Regions from separate parts of the Homo sapiens genome. Here regions 2 and 3 are each linked to region 1. The links are contacts of gene promoters, found by promoter capture Hi-C in human tissues and cell types (Jung and others, 2019). All regions are on one chromosome and are shown on one strand. Each heading gives the region's core, a stretch centred on a gene start or on the middle of the fragment in contact. The rest is flanking DNA. Distances are from core to core; before and after follow the strand shown.

What was found. The method cuts DNA at HindIII sites, captures the fragments that hold promoters and counts their contacts. A contact is called where the count stands out against the background at its distance.
Region 2: a contact is called between a fragment that was not itself captured here and the fragment with the promoter of BIK in region 1, in 3 of the 25 tissues and cell types used here (IMR-90 fibroblasts, small bowel and stomach).
Region 3: a fragment that was not itself captured here is called in contact with the fragment with the promoter of BIK in region 1 in 1 of the 25 tissues and cell types used here (mesenchymal stem cells).

Annotation. Positions count from the first base shown.
Region 1 is chr22:43,107,766-43,112,342 of GRCh38, reverse strand. It overlaps BIK (BCL2 interacting killer), which reads right to left and starts at 1,593. Exons shown (of 5, transcript NM_001197.5): 1 at 1,540-1,593. RefSeq lists silencers at 724-943, 1,474-1,643 and an enhancer at 968-1,526. The HindIII fragment of the contact is 22,290 bases long and covers 1-2,079 here.
Region 2 is chr22:42,957,958-42,962,248 of GRCh38, reverse strand. The region is part of intron 1 of PACSIN2 (protein kinase C and casein kinase substrate in neurons 2); the gene reads left to right. Among named protein-coding and RNA genes, the nearest start is that of PACSIN2, 55 kb to the left of the region's middle. RefSeq lists an enhancer at 2,252-2,546. The HindIII fragment of the contact is 6,006 bases long and covers 1-4,291 here.
Region 3 is chr22:42,894,290-42,899,015 of GRCh38, reverse strand. The region is part of intron 2 of PACSIN2 (protein kinase C and casein kinase substrate in neurons 2); the gene reads left to right. Among named protein-coding and RNA genes, the nearest start is that of ARFGAP3, 39 kb to the right of the region's middle. RefSeq lists enhancers at 1-677, 678-1,454. The HindIII fragment of the contact is 4,261 bases long and covers 1-3,409 here.

The DNA of each region.
Region 1 (4,577 bases), core at 344-2,843:
GCCTGTAATCCCAGCTACTAGGAGGCTGAGGCAGGAGAACCGTTTGAACCCAGGAGGCCGAGGTTGCAGTTAGCCGAGACGGCGCCATTGCACTCCAGCCTGGGCAACAAGAGCGAAGCTCTGTTTCAAAAAAAAACAAAAAGAAACAAAAAACACCCAAACTGTGCCATTCCTGAGAACTTATTCCAAAGGCGTGCCCAAATTAAGTAGAAATCGGGGTGAGTCTTAACTCCAGGGAGGCTACTAACTTGAGAGGGGCTTTCACCTGGCCAGAAACCTCAGGGATACATTTTGCAGAGTGAACAGAACAAACTGAGGTTCAGAGAGATGGAGTGGCCCTTCCGAGGCCACAGGGCTGGAGAGTGGAAAGAGGTTTTGGCTTGGGTTCCATAAAGGGCCCTTGGCTTCTAGCTAGACAACCCTGGCATTTCTGTGCCTCCTGGGACTGAAATCTCTGTTTCTCCACCTGGAAGATGAGGCCTCCTGCTCCCAGGGGCAGACAGATGTTAAGAACTTCCCGGCGCTAGTGCCCACCAGACTGCGCTCCTCCTAATGCGGGGACATGAGGCTGACACCAATGCTCCCTGGGAAGCTCGGGCTCCCAGACCACAGTAAACACTGCGTTAAAACAGCAACAAAAATGTTACAATAGTAAGAGCTACAACAGTAACATCAACAACCACGTCCTACCCCACGAGTGGCTCATTCTAGCAAAATTGACAATGAAGGGCTTGAAAGCGATCGCATTTAGGAGGCCAGAGCCCAGACGACGACCAGCTCCGAACCCCACAAGCCTTGTCGTGACCGCGCCCCGCAGGCGGGGGGCCCCCTCGCGGGTCACCCGCAGGGGCGCACCTCCAATTTACCAAACAAGGTCGCATGCCCCAGCCGGGCTCTAGTCCCCGCCCAGTCTGGGGCGCACCTGTGCAGGGCGCGTGGGCAAGCGAGGGCGGGCGGCTGCGCGCCGCTCCGTGTGCACGTTCCTGTTCCGGACTTTCTGGGCGTCCCGTTACGAAGCCTTTCCTCGGCCCTTCCTCAGGTGCGCAGCGCCTCCGGGAGCCGGTCCCGGCGGCACCGGGCACGACGCCATCTTCCCTCTTTTAAGGGCACCGGGGCTGTGCGGCCGCGGCCGTGGGCTGGCGTTGCCGCGCTACGGTCTGGCCGGGTCCGCACGACCCCAGAGTTCGGAGCCGGGTGCCCGGAAGCCGCACTGGAGGACTGTGCGGCGGCGATGGGGCGTCCAGCCGTCGCGGCGAGACGCAGAGGGACCACCCCATTGCACAGGCGCGGAGACTGAGGCCCGCAGGGGCCGCGCCTGGCACGATCGCCCGTCGGGGACCTGGAGCCCCGGACAGAGAGGGTACGTTTCGGAGCCGGAGTCCCGAGACGTCGCCCCGCCAGCGACTTGCTGGAGCGGTAAAACCTGGGCACGGCTCCCCACACTTCCAGCCGCTCGGCACCCGGGCCGCGGCCTGGGCGCTAACCGCCGGGCTCGAGCTGGGCGGAGCAGCGGGCGGCAGCAGGGTCGGGGGCACTCACCTGGCGGCGGCGATGCTGGCAGCGTCTGTAAGCCACCCGGGAGGCTTCGTGTCTGCGGCCCGGCTGCCGGCGCGGGACCTAATAGGCCCGGGCGCCCCGCCCCTCCCGCCCCGCCCGGGTCCCGCCCCTCCCCGGGAGCGGCCTCTCGCACCCCGAGCGCGGAATCCCGGACTGGGGTCTGAATGGCATTGGCAACAGAACCGCTACAAGTGCAGCCCGTTGGCTTGTTTACAGCCTCTCTGCCCCCTGCTGTTCTGCAAGCTTGTTTTGTCCCGTGCGTCGCTGTTTCCCCTGCGCCCAGCACGGGCGTGCACTCAGGGGTTTCCATCAATATCGGGGGGATCGATCCATTGACAGAATCTGGCCCTTTACACGGATGGCCTCCGTTCGAGCTCAAAGTACTCCTCGGTGCTTTTTTTCACGATCATTTTACCCACGTGGAAACCGAGGCTCCAAGAGGACGAAATGACTTAAATGACAGCGTGAAGCCAGCGTTCAAAGACGTGTGCTCCTTAGGCTGGCAGCTTTGGGATTTAGGTGTTTTAAAGCCTATTTCACAAATATGAAAACCGAGGTTCACATTTGGTTAGCAGCAGCATCCAGTGATCCATACCCGAAGCCAGGGGGCTGCCCCTCCACTGCCGCCCGTCCGCAGCCTTCCAGCTGCATGACACACCCACTGCCTTCCCCCTCCCGTCGGGGCTCCGGGTCCGCGAGAGGCGGGCGGGACTGGGAGGGATTGGGGGCAGGGGGCTCACGTGCAGACCTGGTGAGACGGACCCCACAGCGCCTGGCGGGGCGAACAGAGAAATCAGAAAGCTTCCAGGCGGGGTGGGCGGGTGGGCAGCCTGCTACGCGGGGATGGGTAGGACCTAACTCCAGCCCTGGGGTATATTGGGGGTGGGAGAAGGCAGAGCGCTCCTGGAATAACAAAGTAACAATTGTCCTGGGCACGGCAAAGCTTGTTTACTTCTGTCTTGATCCCCTCAGAGATTAGGGGAGGGGCAGGGACAGGGGTTCCCCTCCCCCAGCTCTGTCGTTTGCTACCTGTTGGGTACCCTCACTCTGTTCTTCCCACCTCTAGGGTAATTACTTCCCCTTCAATGTTCTCATCTGTGAAATGGACAACAGCACCTACCAAGAGCTGGGCTGTTGGGAGGAACAGAGGAGGTAAAGTGTGATAAAGTCTTCAGAGCCCCTCCCGCCTTCCGGGCTCTGGACCTTCTTTGCTTTTGTGGGGTTTTTTTGTTTGTTTTTGTTTTTGTTTTTTTGAGACAGAGTCTAGCCCTGTTGCCCAGGCTGGAGTGCAGTGGCACAATCTTGGCTCACTGCAACGTCTGTCTCCCAGGTTGAAGCAATCCTCCCGCCTCAGCCCCCCTAGTAGCTGGATTACAGGCGTGTGCCACCATGCCCGGCTAGTTTTTGTATTTTTAGTAGAGACGGGGTTTTGCCATATTGGCCAGGCTGGTCTTGAACTCCTGACACCAGGTGATCCACCGGCCTCGGGCTCCCAAAGTGCTGGGATTACAGGCGTGAGCCACCACTCCCGGCCCTGTAGTCTTTTCTTCTAGGGCCTCCAAACTACATCAACCCCTACAAAGCAGCTCGCCCTGACTGTGGCTAACAGCCACAGAGTGCCTTACAGTCAGGAGCAGGGAACCCTTCATAATGGGGGCTTCCCTCTGAATGCATTTTGCAGATGAAAAAATTGAGACTCAGGGAGGTAAAGCAATGACACGGGGTCTCATGGGTCCGAAAGACCTGATATATGTGAGATGCTTGCAGAGGGGTCTTAAGGCTGGAGGCACAGTGCCAGGTATGTAGGAGATGTTCAGTAAACATTAGCAGAAAAGATGGAGAAAGAAGGACCGTTTGGGGACACTGGATGATTCAAGGGCAGAGTGGGTGCAAATACAGTACTTATTTACTTTGCAAAATCCCAAGACAATATGCTGATCAAAAGGAGGAAGAGATGGCTGGGCATGGTGGCTCACGCCTATAACCCCAGCACTTTGGGAGGCCAAGGCAGGTGGATCACCTGAGGTCAGGTGTTTGAGACCAGCCTGGCCAACATGACGAAACTCCATCTCTACTAAAAATTAAAAAACTAGGCCAGGCGCGGTGGCTTGCGCCTGTAATCTCAGCACTTTGGGAGGACAAGGCAGGCGGCTCATCTGAGGTCAGGAGTTTGAGACCAGCCTGACCAACATGGAGAAACCCCATCTCTACTAAAAATACAAAATTAGCTGGGCGGGGTGGCACATGCCTGTAATCCCAGCTACTCGAGAAGGTTGAGGCAGGAGAATTAGGGAGGCAGAGGTTGCAGTGAGCTGAGACCACGCCATTATACTCCAGCCTGGGCAACAAGAGTGAAACTCTGTCTCAAAAAAAAAAAAAAAAAAGTAGCGGGTGTGATGGCACTCACCTGTAGTCCCAGCTACTTGGGAGGCTGAGGCAGAGAATTGCTTGAACCTGGGAGGCCTTGATTGCAGTGAGCCAAGATCGTGCCACTGCACTCCAGCCTGGGCAACACAGCAAGATTCTTCTGTCTAAAAAAAAAAAAAAGCTCACGAAGGAAACTGTCTTGGAGATGCATGATCGCATGATCTATTGAATGAAATGGCATGCTGTATAAATCACTGTGTCCATTAGAATCCTATATTCTTTAAAAATCCATGTATGGCTGGGCAAGGTGGCAGGTGCCTGTAATCCCAGCACTTTGGGAGGCCGAGGCAGGCAGATCACAAGGTCAGGAGATCGAGACCATCCTGACTAACACAGTGAAACCCCATCTCTACTAAAAATACAAAAAAATTTAGCTGGGTGTGGTGGTGGACGCCTGTAGTCCCAGCTGCTCAGGGGGCTGAGGCAGGAGAATGGCGTGAACCCGGGAGGCGGAGCTTGCAGTGAGCCGAGATTGTGCCACTGCACTCCAGCCTGGGCAACACAGCGAGACTCTGTCTCAAGAAAAAAAAAAAAAAATCCATGTGTGAAAGTCTGGAAGGAAATATAGCACAGCAAAATGGGAATAGTAGTCA
Region 2 (4,291 bases), core at 446-2,945, 150 kb after region 1:
TTTAAACAAAAAGCCCTCCCATAACCAGCAGCCCTAAGTGGGGCTCTGGGACAAAAAAAAAAAAAGTTTTCTGGTATCCTGGCTTGGGGGAGGGAACAGGTAGACAATTTTTGTATTTTTTAGTACAGACGGGGTTTCACCATGTTGGCCAGGCTGGTCTCAAACTTGCTTCCCCAGAACTCAGGCGCTGCTTCTGTCTTAGTGGAGTGAGTGCTTGCCAGCTGTGGCGGGCGTGGCACTCTGGTGTTCATCTTCTGTGATGGTGCCGTGGATTTAACTAAGCCAACCACAGGATATAGTGAAATATGTGTTGACTTCTCTGCTTTTTTGGTGACGGGCTGTGTGGGGAGGGGTGGTAAATAATTTCTCAAGTAGTGTAAATTATTATCATATGTCAAGTAATAGAGTCTCATGTTATGTGGTCTTTGCTTTTATTGGTATTTTTCCATTAAGGAATTTCTTTTTCTCTTTTTTTTGAGACAGGATCTCGCTCTGTCACCCAGGCTAGAGTGCAGTGACGTGATCTCAGCTCACTGCAACCTCTGCTCCCTGGGGTCAAGCGATTCTCGTGCCTCAGCCTCCTGAGTAGCTGGGATTACAGGCATGTGCCACTACACCTGGCCAATTTTTGTATTTTTTAGTAGAGATGAGGTTTCACCATATTGGCTAGGCTGGTCTCAAACTCCTGGCTTCAAGCAATCCATTTGCCTCAGCCTACCAAAGTGCTGGGACTACAAGTGTGAGCCACCGGCCCAGCCTAAGGAATTTCTAAACACAAGATTTTTTTTTTTTTTTTTTTTTAATTGATCATTCTTGGGTGTTTCTCACAGAGGGGGATTTGGCAGGGTCATAGGACAATAGTGGAGGGAAGGTCAACAGATAAACAAGTGAACAAAGGTCTCTGGTTTTCCTAGGCAGAGGACCCTGCGGCCTTCCGCAGTGTTTGTCTAAACACAAGATTTTCAAAAGAGATTTTTAACCTACTTCGTTTTGTGTTATAAGGTAAGACTAGATGGCTGTTTTTAACTGAACATTTTTGAATGAATATGAGTAGCAAGAACACTGGTAAATAGTGTATATCCACTTAGCACAGTTTCCCCTTGCAGTATGTTCTTTTGCCAATTACGTATTTTCCCATCCCTACATACACCCGCTTGGGCCATGTTGAAAGGAGGAACCGCCCTGAACTGGCCCTGCCCTGGCCATTACCACTTAGATCCTGGCTTGCCAAGGGGAATGGGGGAGTGTGCATGTGTATCTTCTAGGAGGGCACCTAGCAGAAATTGATCCCTTGAAATATTTGTTTCCTGTCTGTTTTTGCAGGTTGGTTTCCATATCTACTCTTTCCTGTAGTGTCTGTATTTTTTGTTACTGTATGAGATTTTAAAAAGTGTTATTGAATAATATGCATACCTAAAGTGCACAGATCTCAAGTGTACATATCAGTGAATTTTCACAAGCCCAGCACACCCATAGCCAGTTTAAGAGCCACAGCACAGCTCCAAAACCCTCCTGGCACCCCTTCCTGCCTGCCTCCTCTTTCTCTTCCCTGTCCCGGCTTCGAAGGGTGTAGATTAGTTACGCCTTTTCTTGTGCTGGATCCAAAGGGAATCGTACAGCATGTATTCTTGTAGGCACAAGCATTTTAAAATCTTTCTCTCCTCACCTAAAGCTTTATTGTTTTTTTCTTCACTTTAAATTCTTTGTAAAAATTGAAGAAGCGAGGTGTTTTTATTTCCATGTAATCACAGTTGCGTATTTGAGTGTCCTAGTTCTTAGGAGACAGTCGTGCTGCTGAGAGACCATGGGGTCACCTGCCTGTCTCCAGGGGACTCTGTGTCCCCAGTCCTGTCTCCTGCATGAGGCTTCCTGTTCATCTGCTGACAGGCATTGCCTTGTTGTGTGTAGTCACAGAAGGAAGTTGACTTCCACATGTAGGGACAGTGTAAGATTATCCTGTGCAAGCAAGTCCCTGTCCCACTGACTGCTGTGACGCCCCTCAGATGCAGAGAGAGCATGCTGTCTTTTTTCTCTTGTAAGCAGGAGGATCCCAAATACAAGAAGATATTAGAAGACTCATGTATGGTGTAAGTTAGTTTGTATATAATTTGATTTTTTGTGTGTTGGGGAGGGGGTAGTATGAATTTTGTTCTCAGACCTCTTCTCCCTGATTTTCCGTGGAAATACTGAAATTTCTCTTTGGCCACTTTCTGAAAAGAGAGCTCTTCTGTGATGGCCACAGCAGGCAGGAGCGTGCAGTCTGGGAACCTGGGACTGTACAGCGAATGCAGCAGTGTATGGGAATGACCTTATCTCGGCAGCCAACAGGAAATGATGAAATGTGCTGGGAGAATTCAGCTGAGAGACAGAGGTCAGACATGCCAGCAGGGTTGGAAAGAGGCAGGTACGGAAGCTGAGCTGCAGAGTTAGCCGGCATCTGACAGAAAAATGTGAGTGTGCTGTGGAAGGCTTGCATTTCCTTTAAGGTAGACCTCTTTGAAAGTAGAATTTTCACGGAATTGTTTTCTTTCTCACTGAGTGACTGATTTAACAGAACTCTCACCTTCTATGCAAGCGCACCTAGTTTTAGAGCTCCGTGACGGCAATGTTCAATTAGTTCATTATTAACTGAGCAATGCAGAATGCTTTATCCAGGGTGCTTGGAGAAGATGTCAGAGTAAGTGTTTGATTTTCTTGGAGAATAGATTTCGGCTTAAACAAATGAAGGATTGTGTTTTGTAATTTTTGACTCTGGTTTTAGAACATACGTGCGTGTTTCCTTTCAAAATAGATGCAATAACTTTGCACCTTTGCTTTGGCATGTTTTAGAGTAGCTGACATACTTTAGCTGTATTTTTTTCTTACCGAGTAGCTAAATGAGTTACTTGAGTTAGCTGTTAATAGAGGGCTTTTCCCCCTACTTTAAGGCGTTAATGTTTATTACATGCTGCCATTTTCTTTCTTTACAGCCAAATCTAATCTACAAACACATAAGTGGGACTTGAGAGAGAAAGCAAATTATCTTTTCCAGGAGACTGTAATTGCTGTTTCATGACTGTTTACTGCAGAGTCTCTGATCACCTGCCACCGCTCCAGGACCCCTCCCGACCACCTTCCCATCCTCCCCCTCAGTTCTTCTCATTTCTCATCCCAGCTGGACCCTGTGCCCTCGTCCCCCTCTGAGGGCTGTCACTAGACACTGTTTATATTTTTGTCGGGTAACAAAATGTAAAAGTCTTATTGTTTTAATAACTGAGCAGCCTTATGTACGTATTCAATTGTTTCTTAGAAGTCATATTCTGGAATTTTTGAAAAACAGTGGCTCCCCTTTATTGCTGTGGTGCTGTAATTCTAATTAGATTTTTAAAATCCTGATACTTAAGTGACCCATCACTCAGTGAATTATACTTACTGGATTACTGATTGCCATTAAAAAGGCAGCATCCTCTCTCCGTCCTCCAGAAAATACTGTGCTGGTGCAGCCTGTGCCTCACAGAAAAACATGCTTTCTTGTTAGGATGTTACCTACTGTGAAGTGTGTGTTTCAAATACTTTTAAGATTGCATAGGAAAGGTTTCTAGAAACCCCCAAGGTATATAGTATGTCTGTCCGACCTTAATCGGGCCCATCAGTTTTGTCTTTGCTCTTGTAGCTCTGAATATCTCTTTCTTCAGATCCCTTCCTTCTTGTCAGTAAAACATCCTACTGAATTCTGCATGAATTTTAAATGCTGTATTTATGAAAACAGCAAAGAGGTTTCATAACTTCAAACCAAAGCATTTTTACAGGTATGAGATTTATGCCAATAAGTAAAAATACGCCTTCCTTTTTTCTTTTTAAACAGTGTTAGTCCTTTGAGACCCGTTTGCCCACCCACACAATTCTGTTATTCATTTGGTGGCATAATGCAGAAGGTGGGAACGCAATATTTAGAGCTGTAATGGCTCTTGGACTTAATATTCCAGGATCCTCACTTTACCAAAGGAATTGGGATCCAGAGGTGACGACTTGTCCAAGGTCACTCGTCTCGTTGGTAGCCGAGTGAGTCTGAAACCCTGGTCATGAGACTCATTACTCTTTCCATTACAGTAATCTGCTTTCTTCGCATTATTATCTTAAGATGAATATCACTTAGCTAAGAGTGTTTTTTTTTTCTACTGATGAGTCCGTTCATATTTGTTTCACTTTCAAACACTCAGCTTTTATTCAATAACTTTTTTGCTGTAAGTACCATTTGCATAGATGTATAGTGAATTACCTCAAGTACAAAGAGCATTGACATTTCTTAAAA
Region 3 (4,726 bases), core at 30-2,529, 210 kb after region 1:
AGGCACCTCTGGACTGTTTACAACAGATGCATGCAGGATGGAGGAGGAGCTGACGTGGCCTCTTTGGATAGTCCCCCCAGCACGCCTGTGACAATAAGCTGCTGGGTTTCAGGTAGAGCCCCTTTCTCTGCTCCTGATTGCACGGATGTTTCTGCACAGGGATGGTTGAGATTCCAGCTGCCACCTCATCCTAGCTGACTTTAAAACTGAGGCTTGGCTGACATTGGGTTCTCAGAGGAACGATTAGAAGCCTGGCTCACTGAGAGGGAGTGAGTGCAGCCTGGAGGAGGGCAGGCGGCAGGGCGAGTCCTGGGCTCGGGGAAGGGCATGGGGAAGGGAGTGGATTCCCTGGAGGCAGAGCTTGATTGTGAGGGATGTGGCCCCCAAGGTCCATCCCTGGGAGGCAGGAGAGCGGCCTCCGGAGGACCCTAGAAAGGAGGTTCTCAGCCGGGCACAGTGGCTCACGCCTGTAATCCCAGCACTTTGGGAGGCTGAGGTGGGCAGATCACCTGAGTTCGGGAGTTTGAGACCAGCCTGACCAACATGCAGAAAACCCGTCTCTACTAAAAATACAAAATTAGCTGGGCGTGGTGGCGCATGTCTGTAATCCCAGCTACTCGTGAGGCTGAGGCAAGAGAATCGCTTGAACCAAGGAGGCAGAGGTTGTGGTGAGCCGAGATCGCACCATTGCACTCCAGCCTGGACAACAAGAGCGAAACTGTCTCAAAAAAAAAAAAAGAAAAGGAAGGAGGTTCTCTTTCCCAAGGTGGGCACAGCCTGGAGAAGGCAGGGGTGCTGTATGCAGAGAAACCTGTCTGGGAGCCAGGGATTCCCACGACCTTTGTCCCCGCATCCTCCACCTGGAGGATGGGCAGCTCCCTTTTTTGGCTCGCATGCCCTGGGTTCCACTGAGCAGCCCCATTCTCTGGAGGCTGCTCTCAATTCTTCCTTCCAGGATGTCCCCACCCCCGCCAGCCTTCTGAGCCCCACCAGTCCCCAAGCCTGACACCCTTCAGGATGCAGGCCTAGCCTTCCCAGTTTCTCAGCATCTGCCCTCCCTCATTGCCATTTGCTCCCTGTGTTCTGTGTTCCATTCCCAGCTGACTTCTCTCAGGGCCCCAGGGTTGCCATGTGGACACACCTTCCTTTTGCCAGTGCTGTTCCCTGTGCCTGGAATTATTTTCCTGGCCTCACCTTTAATCTGGCCAGCCTCCTACCTGTCCTTGAAGATGCCCTTTGGATATTGCGTTCAGGATACCTCTCACCCCCTCCTCCTAGTGCCCCAGTTCCAGTGCCCTGTGCCCAAGCACTGAGTCCCTCAGTAGGTACATGCTTGGCCCTCCGTCTGCCAGGCAGTCCCTCAGGGGAGTGAAGGGATGTCCAGGCACATGTATGCTGAGCATTTGTCTTTGGTAGCTTAGTTTCTGAGTGGAGTGAGCCTGAATTTAGAGGAAGTTAGGAACATAGCTTCATACCTGGTTCAAAAATGAGGATTTTGTGAATGAAGCAATTAATATGTTTGGAAGAAAGCATGCTTATATTCAGTTTCTACCTAAAGTTTTCTGCCATTTGGCTATCCCAAAACAACCTAATGTTTTGAAGAAGTAGAAGAGAGGTTTTTAATTACAAAACTGATAGAGCAGAAATAGTTAACTATATATGTGCTGATTTTAATGTATGATCGATTTGTCAAATATTTGAAAATTAATTTTCTTGCATTGTAAAAACTAGTCATTATTATACGTTTGATTTTTTAAAAAATATATTAAAAAGGGAACAGGCCAGGCGCTGTGGCTTATACATGTAATCCCAACACTTTGGGAGGCCAAGGTGGGAGGATCGCTTGAGCCCAGGAATTCAAGACCAGCCTAGGCAACACGGCAAAACCCTGTCTCTGCAAAAAATACAAAAATTAGCCAGGTGTGGTGGTGCGTACCTGTAGTTCCAGCTACTCTGGAGGCTGAGGTGGGAGGATCACTTGAGCCTGGGAGGTTAAGGCCACAGTGAGCCATGATTGTGGCACTGCACTCTAGCCTGGGCAACAAAGCAAGACCCTGTCTCAAAAAGAAAAAAAAGGAACAAACTTTACTCAAGAAGGCATACAGATGGCAAATAGTCATAAGAAAAGATTTTCAGTATTATTAGACTTTAGAAAGATGCAAATTAAAATCACAATGCAATATTGCTACACTAAGTAGAATGGCTAAAAATAACAAAACAGAACAAAACACCCTGGCAATACTAAGTGCTGGGAGCATGCAGGACAGGGAAGTCTCATACGTTGCTGATGGCAGTGCACAGCTGTCCAGTCACTTTGGGTAGCAGTTCGGCAGTTTTGTTAAACGTACAGTTAACATTTCCATTCCTAGGTATTCACCGAAGAGTCATGGAAGCTTATGTCCCCACAAAAGACCAATAGATGAACGTTATAGCTTCTTTATTCATAATTCCCCCAAACTGAAAATGACCCAAGCAACCTTCAGCAGGAAGAATATGGATAAACCAAAGAGTGGTATAACTACCCAATCGAATACTACTTAGCAGTAAGAAAGAGTGAACTTCTGATAGTGGTATACCTACACAGTCGAATACTACTTAGCAGTAAGAAAGAGTGAACTTCTGATAGTGGCATAACTACACAATCGAATACTACTTAGCAGTAAGAAAGAGTGACCTTCTGACGTAGATAGCAACATGGATCAGTCTCAGAAACATTATGGTGGGTGACAGAAGCCAGTCTCAAAAGCCAGGCTGCATACTGTGTATTCCATATATCCTTGCCATCCTGGAAAAGGGGCAAAAATCATGTCTGTGGTTGCTGGGGGCTGTATGGGGAGGGGATGGGCTGCAAGGGGGCACAAAGGCACTTCATGAGAGATGGAAGTGTCCTGTTCCTTGCTGTGGAGGTGGTAGACAGTGGTATATGTTTGTCCACATTCAGATCTAAGTGTACCCTGTAGTGGGCAGTTTTGCCTGTGTGTAGATTCCATCTCGACCTAGAGAAGCAGCCAGCAGTAGCTCTGCTCCTGGGACGACTGCAGTGCTTTGCCCAGGGAAGTGGAAAGGCCACATTGCTCTGTCCCTGGTGGTTTATGGCGATAGAGACTTCCAGTGATGGCCTTCACCGGCCACCACACAACCGTTTCATTAAAGGGACAGCAGGGCCGATGTTGCTGGGGTGCCTCGGTCCCAACTGTTTGGCATACTGCCCTTCTCCCGTTGGCTCTGTGCTCAGCCAACTTGCCTCTTGTCCCCAGCAGTGGTCACAGGACCAGCACAGGCTCCTCTGCAGCCTCTAGGACCAACTGGGAGCTTATTTGGAAACCTGAAATGTGTACTTACGGAAACACTCTTCCTGTATTCATCACGGATTTCCACATTTCAAGAGTTGTCATGTAAATGTGTATTTGCAGCTCCTGTGTGTGCCGATGGGTGGTACCAACATGTGACTTGTTAAGAAATATCCTTTTCTTTTCCCTAAACCTTTAACCAGTGGTTCTGAAAATCACAGAGATAAGCAGGTTTCAAGAGAGCCAAAATACATGATTTGATGGTGATTACCAATTTGAATACTGTTGGTAATAGGCAGATGAAAACCAGCTCTGGGTTGTGGCTTCATGTCGACTGTCAAGGCTAAGTTAGGGCCGTGTTACCTCAGCTCCTCCTACCACCAGCTCAACGATACTGAGTTGCTTGTTGGGTATTTTTTTCATCCTGCTGTAAATTTCAAAATGACAGTAAGGCCTCATTTTAAGGGAAGCAACCACATAATGTCACTTCCAGTGAGCTGTGAAAATGCTCACTTCCGACTTCCTCACAGGAGCTGCTCTAGTTTGGAGTGGATGCTCAGGTTCAGCTCATGTTTTGACGAGCTGCCGAGCTGCCAGCCTTGCTGGGGGAGGTCTTTGGAGGGAATGAGTAGAGCCGGAAGTCTCATCTGCCTCTGGAGAAGGCTGCCCAGGCTAACCACCTTCCAGGGGTCTTTGCTTTTCACCAGGATTCTGGTTCTCACAGGAGTGGAGTCATCTCAGCCCATGTAGCTCAGCCTCAGGGACAGCCCTTCCTCCAGGTGCTGCAGCCCCCTTCCCTCCCCTTGCCCATCTCTGTGCAGGGCCAGGCAAAGAGATTTTAGAAAAGGTAAAACTGACAAGGGGTTGACTAAGATTTTTGAAGGCATTGGGAGAAAAAGGCTGAAAAGAGATCGTTTTTCTGTCATATTTCCTCTGGGTGCTCAAGTTATCAGCGACTGTAGCCTTTCAAGCCAGCAGCTAAAAGAATGAAACATATCGAACATTTTCGTTTTCACCCCAAATTAGCCATTAACATTTCCTCAGTTACTCTTTTATTACTTATAACTTTGATGAACTAGTTTTTCTTTTCATATACGAAAAAAGGCAGTCAAAACTCAGCTTAGCCCTGACAAAGCTTTGCCATCAAGACAGTCCTACTTGGAACCCTTTGAAAAACTGCCTTTGGGCTGGGCGCGGTGCCTCACGCCTGTAATCCCAGCACTTTGGGAGGCTGATGTGGGTGGATCACAAGGTCAGGAGATTGAGACCATCCTGGCCAACATGGTGAAACCCTGTCTCCACTAAAAATACAAAAACTAGCTGGGTGTGATGGCATGCGTGCCTGTAGTCCCAGCTACTGAGGAGGCTGAGGCAGAAGAATCACTTGAACCTGGGATGCGGAGGTTGCAGTGAGCCGAGATCGTGCCACTGCACTC